2 separate regions of the Homo sapiens genome follow, and region 2 is linked to region 1. Evidence: promoter capture Hi-C in human tissues and cell types (Jung and others, 2019). All regions are on one chromosome and are shown on one strand. The core of a region is centred on a gene start or on the middle of the fragment in contact, and the rest is flanking DNA. Distances in the headings are between cores, read along the strand shown. Region 1 holds the start of PSG11 (pregnancy specific beta-1-glycoprotein 11). Region 2 overlaps PSG6 (pregnancy specific beta-1-glycoprotein 6).

Region 1 (6,358 bases), core at 3,410-5,909:
CAACATTGTATCCCAAAACAATGTCCTCTCTGCCCCTCATCGTGGAACTCACTGTCTCTCACCACGTGGGCAAGTGCTTCCAGGGTCTCACAATTCTTCCACAAGAGGCAAGGCACACTTTAACATAGCACTTCAGCAAATAAAGTGGTGACAGTTTACCTACTTAGATAAAGTTTTTTAAAAGGCTCTCCCAAATTTCCCCATGAAGAAGACAGAAAAGGCTTTCCCAATGGTGAAACATTCGCCTCCCCACCTTTCAAAAAAGGATCCCTGAATAGCCAAAAGAATCTTGCCAAAATAAATTGTAGGACTTGAACTTTCTTATTTGAAATCTCACAAAGGAGTACAATTATTAAAACAAGCTGCTGGCAAAAGAATGAACATAAAGACAAATGGGATAGAATTGAGAGTCTAGAAGCAAACCCTCACACTTATGGTCAATTAGTCTTTGAAGAGAGTGTCAAGACAACTTAATGGAGGAACAATTCTCCTTTCTAATGATAGTGCAGAAACAACTAGATAACCACATGCAAAACAGTGAATTTAGATAACTCTACCTCACACCGTATCAAACAATTCCCTAAAAAATTGATCAGTGAGTTAAATATAAGACCTATAACCATAAAAACATCTCAAAGTAGACATAGAGGTAAATATTGATGACCTCAAATGTGCAATGGATTCTTAGATATGATACAAAAGCATGAGAAAGAAGAAAAACAAGATATATTGGGCTTTATCAAGATGTGAGCATTTTGTACATCAAAGGAAATTATCAAGAAAGTAATTAATAGACACAGAATGAGAGAAAATATTTGCAAACCACATATAGGCAGTTTTCATGTTCAGATAATATAAAGAACTAGCTACAACTCAATAAAGAAAGGACAAATCATCCAATTTATAAATGGGCAAAAGAGTCAAATAGACATTTCTTCAAAGAAGATATACAAAGAGTCAAGAAGGACATGAAAAGATACTCAACATCATTAGTCATCAGGAAAACACAAAGTCAAAGCTGCAATGAGACACCACATCACATCTACAAAACTGGTTACCATTCTTTTAAAATGTTAAATAACAAGTAGCAGTATTATGTAGAATTTGGAATCCTCATATATTGCTCGTGAGAATATAAAAAGGTACAGCCTCTAGGAGAAACAGTTTTGCTGTTCCTCAAAAAGCTAATCATATAATTCTCATTTGAAACAACATCCATTCCTAGGTATATACCCAAAGAATTAAATCCAGGACTCAAACAGGTACTTGCATGATAGTGTTGATTGCAGCATTATTCACAAAAGATTAAATATGAAAACAATCCAAGTGCTCATCAATGCATGAATAAATAAATATGGTGACACATACAACAGAATGTTAATCTGCCATAAAGAGGAATGAAGCTCTGACACCCACTGGAACATGCATGGACTATGGAAACATTATGCTAAGTGAAATATGTCAGAAACAAAATAACATCATTGTATAATTCCATTTATATGAAACATCAAGAATAGGCAAATTCATAGAGACAGAGTAGAGATGATCAAAGTCTAGGGTGGAACATACAGGGAGGTATTGTTTGAAAGATACAAAGTTTCAGTTTAAAGTGATAAAAATTTTCTAGGAAAAATAGTGGTGATGGTAATTTAACACTGTGTATGTGGTTAATTTCACTTGATTGTGCATCTTAAAGTGGTTAGAATAGCACATTATTCACAGAACTGTGAAAAATAGATTTCTGTTATGTAATTCACCCAGGCTAAGGCATTTGTTATGGCAGCTGAAGCCCATGAATACATCATCTGACCCAGTGTTTCAATGAAAGGCATGAGTTTTTCAATCAAGTTACCTGGAAGCTCCTGTCCCCAGGAGTACCAGAGGCCCCAAAACAAGAGCTCCAGCAGAGGCTCAACCAGCACAGGTCCCATAGGGCAGCCTCAATGTCAGCCTCTGGATGGCATGTGAGGCTACAATGATACAACCACAAAGTGAAAATGTCAGTATTTTTACTACTTACAGACACTAGGGAGCACTCGGCACACCTGGAGACCGCAGACACAGAGTTCAGTGAGCCCAGGCAGGGAGGAGAGAAGAGACTGGTAAGCCAATGGCTTTATTAAGTCCAGGGTGTTATATGACAGATTTCCAGCAGGGAGCTTTAATGGATGTGTTCAAAGAAAGCAGCAAACACTGGGACCAGGAGCTCACGCTGTGACTGAGAGGTGGTCACTTTAAATATGAGGGCGAATGTCAGAATTATCAGTTTAAAGAAAGCAGCTGGAGAGAGGGGAGTCCAGCACACCAAGCAGGAGAGATGCCTCTAAGATTTTATCTCTGGACACCAACTGGAGCCACCTGAACCAGATACAGTATTGAAAACTGCCATGGTGACCAAGCCCTGCCTCTGATTTGAGGCAAATAAACTTACAACTTAAAAAATGAATGCCAAGGCAACATGACACTATGAGCATCATGACATCCAGGGACACCAGCAGGGTGTGGTACTGTGCCCTGGAGTCAAAATCGTGGGTTCTGGTCCCTGGGAGAAAATGAAAATGATGTCCCTGCCCCCCTGACATTGATCTTCCCACCCTGCTGCTCCGTCTTCTTCTCCCAAGCCCAAGTGCAGCGCTCAGCCCCAGACATCACTGCCCCCAGGGTATACACAGTGCCGCCTACTGCACACAAACACAAACTCACAGAAAGTGACAAACATCTGCGTTTGGGATATCTGATCGTGAAAGAGGGAGAACAGTGAACGTAGAGCCACACAGACTGGGACTCACGGGGCTGGAAGGTGAAGGAGCTATAACATAACATATGTGTGACCTTGTGTGAAGTGTGCAGATCCACGTAGAATAAAACATGCAGCCTGGCCTGGGATTGCTGCCGTTCACACTTCCCTCCCTGTCCACCAGAAGGCGACAGAGTCCCTCCCGGCCTGGAGTCTTCCCAAGGGATGCCAACCGCCCTCAGCGGAACCCACAGCCCAGCAGGGTCCACCCTCACCAGGGTCACTTCGGACTAAGTCCTCAGCGCCCTCCATGCTCCCCACAGGGTCTCTGTCAGCTCCTCCCTGACCTGGGGGCCACCAACCTAACACCACTCCCCCTACAGGTAGTTCCTGCCCCACACACCTGCTCCTTCCCTGGGCCCAGCTAAAGGCATCTCCCAGGGCAGCGCTGGTGCACGCGATGCCACACTGGGCGCTTTCCCCTCGTGACCTCCCTCCATCAACATCAACTCTTTCTGTCACTGCTCCCTAAATGCCCACCCCTGCTCCATCTGTCCTGTTCACTGGGGCATCCCAGGCCAAGCTTAGCGCTGACACAGAATAGCGGCTGCCTGAGGGCCCACAGCCTCACCGGGAATCAGCCAGGCACCCTGTGACCTGCCTGCTCACTGAACCCCGGAGGGCTCAGAGCGCGTGTGATGGTCACACACAGGCACCATCCGGGATGTGGCCACCTACCCCCAGCTGTCTCTTGGGAAGACAGACGTCTCCCGTGTGCTTGCGGGGAGAAGGGGGGTGTTATTGCTCTTTGCTCCCAGAACACAACTCACCCCCACCCGCCCTCTCAGGTGTGAGCTACGTCCCTCCAGACAGGATCTCTGGCCACTGCCTGTTCCTCCTCTACACACAGCAGCTTGGCCAGGTCAAAACCCTCAGGACAGACCCCTGGGTATCTCAGCACATGGAGGGCTGAGCCCATCATGGCCACGGAGTAAGTCGGGATGAATCTCTCCAGCTCTGAACCCCTGCTCTGTCCCAGGCTCCTCCTCCTGCGTCTCAATAAGTCATGTCCCGCGGGATTCCTGGGTAACTCCCCACTTCCTCCTGCACCACCACGGGGAAGGTGTGGTGACCACAGGACAATCAGCTCGGCAGAGAAGAAAGGACATCAAAGATTGTCAGGAAGAACATGAGAAACCAAGAGCTCCAGCTCAGCTGCCAGACCCCATGGAGTCACAGAGTGACCGAGAACTTTCCCTTTGACTATGGGACTCACAGCCCCCACTGAGCAACCAGCACAGGCCTCTCCTCCCAGGAGGCATGAAAGATTCACCCTGCACACCTCCAGGAAGGACAGTTTCCTCTGGGAAACCCAGGTCCTCAATGTCCATCCTTGGAAGCTGCAGCCAAGCTAGACACGATTGGAGAAAAGAAGGGTCCCTCTCACCAGGCAACACACAGCTCACCCACAGCACAATGGGGTGTCACTCTGACAGGGACCTGGTGCAGCTCCAGCCTCCTGCACTGAAGGGGAGAGCCAGACGGGGATGAAAGAGGGCAAAGGGTGTGAATGTGCACCCCGACCAAGAGCAATGGGGACAGCAGGAGGCTGAGGCCCAGGACTCTGCTTGCCCAACCTGCAGGGTATGTGTCTGACTGTGTGGGTCTGTGTGTGTCTCTTCTGTGTGTGTGTGTATGTGTGTGTCCGCACAAAGTGTGTATTGAGGTTTGGTGAAAGAATCACTGCTGAAAAAGGCAGAGGCCTCCACAATTCCCAGGGACCTGAAACACAGACAAAAGGAAAAACAGAAGGAGGGACAAGGAGGCAGGGCTGAGAGAGGAGGGGACAGAGAGGTGTCCTCGGCCTGACCCTGCCCATGAGCTTGAGAAGTGCTCCTTCCACCGGGAAGAGTCTCAGCGCAGAAGGAGGAAGGACAGCACAGCTGACAGCCGTGCTCTGGAAGCTTCTGGATCCTAGGCTCATCTCCACAGAGGAGAACATGCACGCAGCAGAGATCATGGGGCCCCTCTCAGCCCCTCCCTGCACAGAGCACATCAAATGGAAGGGGCTCCTGCTCACAGGTGAGGAGAGAACTTCCTGGGAGAGGACAGGAGGAGGAAGCAGAGTGACTGGATGGGGTCTCCTGGAGAGGCTCCTGGGGTTCTAAAAAATAAAAAAGCCAGCATTTAGGGAGGCTGAGGTGGGTGGATCACGAGATCAGGAGTTCAAGATCAGTCCAGCCAACAGAGTGAAGCCCTGTCTCTTCTAAAAGTACAAAAAATTAACCAGGTATGGTGGTGTGCTCCTGTAATCCTAGCTACTCAGGAGGCCAAGGCAGGAGAATCACGTGAACCAGGGTGGCGGAAGTTGCAGTGAGCTGAGATAGTGCCACTGCACGCCAGGCTGGGTGACAGTACGAGACTCCATCTCAAAAAAAAAAAAAAAAAAAAAAAGAGAAAAAAAAAAAAAAAAAGGAAAGAAGGCCCTGTTGATGCCTGGATAGGGGAAAATACACCCAAGAGGGACAGGGGTCAAAACAGGAAAGTCACATTGAACCGGAATTGGTAAGAGGTAGGAAACAGGTGTTCTGTTTTCCTGATTAATCATCAGGGGCCACCACATTTTGAAAAATGATAATAATAACTATATCAGATGACACTACAAATAAAAATAAACAGGGCATGAAACACTGTCCTCAATAAAAAACCTCAACAATTGGGGAAAAAAAAAAAAACACCCAGGGCGTGGACGGCCCTGAGAACTCTCACATCTACAGGAGTCTGCAGCCTGTTCCAGGCACTGGGGTGCAACCAAGATCACAAAAGTCCCTGTCCTCACGGAGCTCATGCTGCCATGGGGAGGAAGTCAGACATGCAAAGAGATCTAGAATGTGAGGTCAGGTGTTGACAAGAACCCTGGAGGGAGCAGAGCAGGGAAAGGTCAGAAAGGGAAGACCCAGAGTCCCTGAAGGAGGTGTCAGGAAAGAAGTCTAAGGATGCCCTGATGTGAGCAGGACCTGAGGGCAGTGTGGAGGGGGCCATGCGGACCCCTGGGGAAGAGGATTCCAAACAGAAAAATGCCAAGGTCAGAAGTGTTGAAGGAATGGGGGTCATGCTGCTGACCTTGACCTAGTAGGACAGTAGAACACACACACATACACATACACAAACACACATGCCCCTTTTCTGTGTGTGTATGTTTGTATGTGTGTGTGTGTGTGTGTGTGTGTCTTCAAGGCTGAGGATTGAAGAGACCTTCTCAGGACTCAGGGCCCCATCTTTTCACCCCAATACATAGGTCTCAATATTGACTGATGCTCTCTCCACCTCCTAGCATTACTTTTAAACTTCTGGAACTTGCCTACCACTGCCCAAGTCATGATTGAAGCCCAGCCACCCAAAGTGTCCGAGGGGAAGGATGTTCTTCTACTTGTCCACAATTTGCCCCAGAATCTTACTGGCTACATCTGGTACAAAGGGCAAATCAGGGACCTCTACCATTACATTACATCATATGTAGTAGACGGTCAAATAATTATATATGGACCGGCATACAGTGGACGAGAAACAGTATATTCCAATGCATCCCTGCTGATCCAGAATGTCACCCGGGAGGACGCA
Region 2 (6,165 bases), core at 1,345-3,844, 130 kb after region 1:
TTTGTAGAGACAGCATCTCCCCAGGTTACCTATGCTGGTCCAAACACCTGGTTTCAAGAAATCCTTCTGCTGTGACCTCCCAAAGTGCTAGGATTAAAACATGACCCACCATGCTCAGAGTCCATTTTCATTTATGATTTGAGTAATTTTATCTTTTCTCTTTTTTTCTTAGCCAATCTAGTTAATGGTTGTCAATTTTGTTGATTTTATTTTGAAGAATCAACTTTTGGTTTCAGTAATTTCCTCTATTCTGTTTCCATTCTCCATTTTATTTATATCCACCCTAATACTTATTATTTCCCTCATTCACTGTGCTTGGGTTTAGTTTGTTCTTCTTTCGTATCCTGAAGTATTAAAGTAGGTTGTTGACCTGAGCTCTTTCTTCTTTTTTAATGTAAGAGTTTACAGTTATAAATTTCTTGCACAAGACTCAACTTCTCTGAACCCCTGATTCCTCACCTGAAAATTGCAATAAGAGTACTTTCTTCATACCATTCTTTTAAAGGTTTAATGCAGTCAATGAAACAAGATGCCACACAAAGAGGAACCAATGTCAGCTGCTATATTACTACCATCATCATTAGCCTTGAGGTCAAATAGTCCTAGAATCAAATCTCAGATCCACCTGTCACTAGCCATATGACACCAGGAAAGTTTTTACACCATGCTAAGCTTCTGTCTTTTCATCAGCAAAATGGAAATAATGCCTACCTGACAGGGTTATTGTGTGGATTAAATGAGATACAGGTAAAGTATTGAGCACAGGGCCTGGCACATAGAAAGTGCACCTCAACAGTACCTACCTTTTTCCATAGATATGAAAAAAGCGGTAACACATAAAACACTAGGACATGGTTACTGACTAATTGTGGGAGAGAAAGAAAAAAAGCTAAGTGCAAAGAATCAAGTCTGGTATGTTAGTTTTTACCAACTGAGATGCATCCAAGATGGGATTAGACATACAAGATAATTTATCAGGGAAGACACCTGTGAGGGAATGTGGGGCAGGCATGAAGGTAGTATGGGAGAACCCACAGACCGCTATGCAGAGCTGATTCCTGTGAAAAAGAAAGAGAAAGAAGTTTTAGGTACCAATGCAGTTCTAAGAGTTTTTGCAAGGCTGATGAGGAATCCTCCAACCAGTCACCCATTGGAGTTAAAGAGAGCCTCGGAGAACTAGACTTGCTTTCACACCCTTGCTGGGAGCCTGTGGGAAAGAAGCTTTCTCTGTAAAGGAGGTAGTGAATTTGAAATGCGCTGACCTGGGCCTTCTGTCAATCAGGTCCCTGCCATGGAAACCAGACAGAGTCTCATTAATGGCTGCCACAATAGAGACACTGAGAAAAAGAACAGGTTGATACCTTCATGAAATTCAAGACAAAGAAGAAAAAAACTCAATGTTATTGGACTAAATAATCAAAAGGATAATGTTTTCATAATTTTTTATTGGAAAATGTGCTGATTCTTGGAATGTTTTATTCTCCAGATTTATGAACTTTTTTTCTTCAGCAATTGGTAAAGTATACTTTTGTAAACAAAAATTGAAACATTTGCTTTTGCTCTCTATCTGAGTGCCCCAGAATTGGGAAACTATTCATGAGTATTCATAGGTTTATGGTAATAAAGTTATTTGCACAAGTTCAGTAAGAATCTGCTCTCTTTATAACAGGACACATTTGAAAACATTGGTTATATTACCAAAGCTTTTACTGGGATGTTATATTTGATAATATACCTAGAATAAACCCATAGGGAAAGCAGGCAAAGTCTGAAGTTGGTCTTGGTTTAGTTTCCTAGTCTCAAGAGGTTTTTGGAAGTTTCATCTGAGATTCTTATTAAAAACTTCTAGCAAAGGGACGTTTAAAAAGAGCCTCTATGGTCCACGGCTACTCTTGCCGCACTTAGGTAAAAAATCTGGGCAAGTTCGGTGAGACTCAACCTATTTTGCAAACAAATTCATCCTACTGGAATTATCTTTGGTAAAATTAGAGACTCCTATAGAGAGAAAAACTAGTTGAAAAGAAAAACTGTAGTACACCTGTTACCAGATTGAACCACTACTGTTCATTATCTTTGAGTATTTATAATCCACTGGTAGACTGGACTGGACCCTGAATTCTTTTAGTTCTTCCAATTCAATTTTCTCCAATGAAATCATTAAGAACAAGAGCAGCTCTGTTCCTGAAGCCATATAAGCTGGAGGTGGACAACTCAATGTAAATTTCATGGGAAAACCCTCGTGTCTGAGGTGTGGGCCACTAAAAGCTCACCAAATGTTCAACACCATAACTTAGAGACACTCAAACTGCAAACCACGACAACAAGTTGATGACTTTACACTGTGGACAGCTTTTCTCAAGATGTCAGAACAAGACTATCAATCATGATGAGACTCTTACCTCTCTTAATTTCTCCTTGCTTATGCCTGTCTCCTTTGCTTCCCAGAATAATGCTGTACTTAGGATTTCACAAGAAGTAGCTTCTGAGAGTAAGTTAACAGTGTCAGATATATCATGTCAACCACACTTCATTTATTTTTTAAGATGGAGTTTCACTCTTGTTGCCCATGCTGGAGTGCAATGGGACAATCTTGGCTCAATACAACCTCCGCCCCCTGGGTTCAAGTGATTCTCCTGCCTCAGCCTCCCAAGTAGCTGGGATAACAGGCATGCACCATCATGCCCAGCTAATTTTGTATTTTCAGTAGAGACAGGGTTCCTCCATGTTGGTCAGGCTGGTCTCGAACTCCCGACATCAGGTGATCCACACGCCTCAGCCTCCCAAAGTACTGGGATTACAGGCATGAGCCACCGCACCCAGCCAACACATTTTTACATAACAAGACATCCTTTAAAGCTCCTGATTATTGTAAGTACAAAATTGCATGAAGGATTGTGTAAAGAAAAATGCCAGGTTGGACTGCCAGAATGAGCCAACAGCACGTGATGTGCTTCCCCCTGCAGAGAGCCTATGAATGGATGGGCAGTCAGGGAGGTTTCACATTACCAAGATTCCTATCCCAGAAAAGCAGATGTCTGTAGCTCTGGGAAAGGAATGTGACCCTTATGGAGAGCCTATAAATGACCCTAAATCCCTCACTAAACTACCCCCACTCTCACTAAACTTAATAATAAATGCTGGTGTATCCAGTGCATTGGCAGCATCGCAGGACCAGAAGGCGGTGACACCCCTGGACACAGCTTTCCCTATCTTGTGTGTGTCCTTTATTTCTCAACTTGCCGATCTGCCTGGGAACAAAGAAAGAGCCCTGTTGCATTGCAGGTTGCTGGCCAGATCCCACAATATAGTCCCAGCTACTTGGGATGCTGAGGCATCTGTAGAGGGAGAGCTGCCCCAAATCATAAATCACAAATAAAAACCAATTACATCTATAACTAAATCAGTTGTAATTTTGTCTTATCACACATGTTCACAGCAAGCAATGGCCAGTGGAGTCTCTCAGACTGCATCATTCTCACCCTGACCCTCCTGCCTTGCTCTTTCACTTACAAGGACCCCTATGATGACACTGGGAGCCATCCAGATAAGCCAGAATAAGCTTTCCATCTCAAGATACTCAACCTCATCACCTTTGAACAGTGTTTTTGCCAAGAAAAGTAAATGCATGTGTTCCAAGAGTTAGGATGTGGATTTTTTTTTTTTTTGAGACAGTTTCACTCATGTTGCCCCGGCTGGAGTGCAGTGGGACAATCTAGGCTCACTGCAATCTCCGCCTCCCAGGTTCATATGATTCTCCTGCCTCAGCCTCCCAAGTAGCTGGCATTAAAGTTGCCCGCCACCACGCCCAGCTAATTTTTGCATTTTTAGTAGAAACGGGGTTTCACCTCGTTGGCCAGGCTGGTCTTGAACTCCTGACCTCGTGATCCACCCGTATCAGCCTCCCAAAGTGGTGGGATGACAGGCGTGAGCCCCTGCACCCGGCCCGGATGTGGACATTTTTAAGAGGCCATTATTCTGCCTCATACGGGTCACTTTCATAAACATCACCCACAACAAAAATGTTTTGCCTTCCTTCCATGTCTCACTTTTCTGTCTGCACAAACCACAGTGAAACACACTAGCTCTGCTATGAAGTGGCTGGATGACCCTGGGCCACTCATTTGACTTCCCTCAGCCTCTTTCCTCATCTGCAGTGTAAGGCTGACTCTTACTGCATCAGAAAATGACAGTGGAAGAGTAAATTAACATGTGTAAGACATTAGTCACAGAGCCTGGTACCTGATGAGCCCTTGGTAAACATTCCTTTCAGTCCTTTCCTTTCACCTTCCCATTTTTCTTGCCCTCACCCATCTTCTCCTTCAACTCCTTTCTCTTCAGTAACTTACTCAGTCTAACCTGACAATTAAAGAAGCCACACTAACCATTCTCTCATGACTCTGCTGGAATGTTCTTGTGATGCGGTCTGCTATCCACTCAAGGCAGGAGGTATTATTTATATAGAGAGGTCTGTTTGCAACAAGAAATCCTTTTTCTGTTCACAAAAATTTATACACAATTTCTCTTAACTTACATGTAGCAGTCTCAATTCTACCCTGTTATTTCATTCATGTACTTCATTATTTTATTCTTCAGTCTTTCTGCTTACACCTTAAAAATTAGGATAGCACAAAAACAAAAATAATGGCCTGGGCCAGAAGAGGGGATTCCTTTAGCAAGATGAATGCTTTCCTTTTTCAAGATGAATGAATGCTATGTGCAAGGCAGCCCTGAAGCCCATTTCTGGGTTTGGCTTACATCAAAGCCATTTGACTCTAGAACACATTCTTAGATTCCCAGGAGATAATGATTGTCACGGAAGACACACCCACTCTGAGTATTCCTACTGTTGGGTAAAGGAATGTTTGCAGAATGTTGTGCATTCTGTTTACTCCTCCTAAATTCTTCCACTCCTGGAAGTTAAGCTTCCCTACTAATCAGCTTCATCTCCAGCTGGCCTGCCTGGACCCTGACCAGAAAATATCTCCCCACTCTGGATGGCCAGGGTGATACCTTTGTATATTCCCATAATTATAATAGCTCACACTGATGCAGCACTCACTATGCACCAGGCACTATCCTAAGAGCTTTTCAGGTAACTATAGTGCTCACCAAAAAATCCCAAGAGCCACAATCCCCATTTTTACAGATTAAAAAAAAAAACTGAGGCAGAGAATTATATACCCACTGTCACTTAAATCCATAATTCAACCTCAACCTCCAATTCTTCTGGTAAGAGGACACGCTAAGATGTACAAGGTCTCCTGAATGACATCCTCCTTCAAAAATGATTTTTGTCCCATTTACTTTCAGGATTTGACAAACAGCCAGCATTTTGTTTTCTGTCTCACCCTTCACTTATGCATCTGTTCCCTAAAACTACACTCACAACTGCACAGCCCTGCATAAAAGCTAGCTTTTAGAAACCCCAATCTCTTTTGGAAAAAAGAAAGGCCAGCTTCCAAGTCTCAGAAAACATCATTTTTTATTCTATTGTCAACTATTTACACGGCCATTCTCTGGCCATAAACGAGTGCACTAGAAACAGAAAGAGTAATGAGAAGAAAGTAGGAGGGGGGTGAGTTTCTAGATAGACACACAGGGAAAAGATTATGAATCCAGAAAAATTCATAAAATGCACCCAGGGTGTGTGGCTTTGAGCAATGACAGCCCCACCTGCCACTTTCCATGTTCACTTCTTACTTCCTTCTCAACCTGCCCCTCCTGGTCTTGCTTTCTTAGACCAATACAAACAACCTGGGAGCTGGGGTCAGATCAGAGCACACAGCACTGAGTGGTAGGGTTGGGAAAGACAGAAAGGAAGACGAGTGTTTGACTCATGAAGACCTGACTCACCTTACACATCACCTAGGCAGGCAACAGATTACTGAAGGGCTTTGCAGGACTCATGGTGGTTATCCAGAATGACTGACTGAGGCAAGGGTCTTGATAAATTGAGATTTATTGAGCCAGAACTTGAAAGTACACCCTGGGAATACATGAGTTGCAAAAAAACCTCTGTGGCTTGTGTTTTCTCTGAAGAGGTTTCAGGAGGCTTAGTATTTATACATTTGATTAAAGGGATAAGGCATGTCGGAAGAGATGGTGTGGGCAGAAAAACAATTCATCTAATCTTGTCTTTCTTCTTTGCCTCAGAAAATAAATATT

The links. Contacts are between HindIII fragments. The study calls those that stand out against the background at their distance.
Region 2: a fragment that was not itself captured here is called in contact with the fragment with the promoter of PSG11 in region 1 in 2 of the 25 tissues and cell types used here (dorsolateral prefrontal cortex and mesenchymal stem cells).

The regions. Positions count from the first base shown.
Region 1 is chr19:43,024,770-43,031,127 of GRCh38, reverse strand. It overlaps PSG11 (pregnancy specific beta-1-glycoprotein 11), which reads left to right and starts at 4,659. Exons shown (of 6, transcript NM_002785.3): 1 at 4,659-4,819; 2 at 6,072-6,358. The coding sequence starts at 4,756. The HindIII fragment of the contact is 7,620 bases long and covers 1-5,879 here.
Region 2 is chr19:42,897,564-42,903,728 of GRCh38, reverse strand. PSG6 (pregnancy specific beta-1-glycoprotein 6) reads left to right here. Exons shown (of 6, transcript NM_001031850.4): 6 at 1,283-1,643. The coding sequence ends at 1,317. Among named protein-coding and RNA genes, the nearest start is that of PSG6, 17 kb to the left of the region's middle. The HindIII fragment of the contact is 3,294 bases long and covers 948-4,241 here.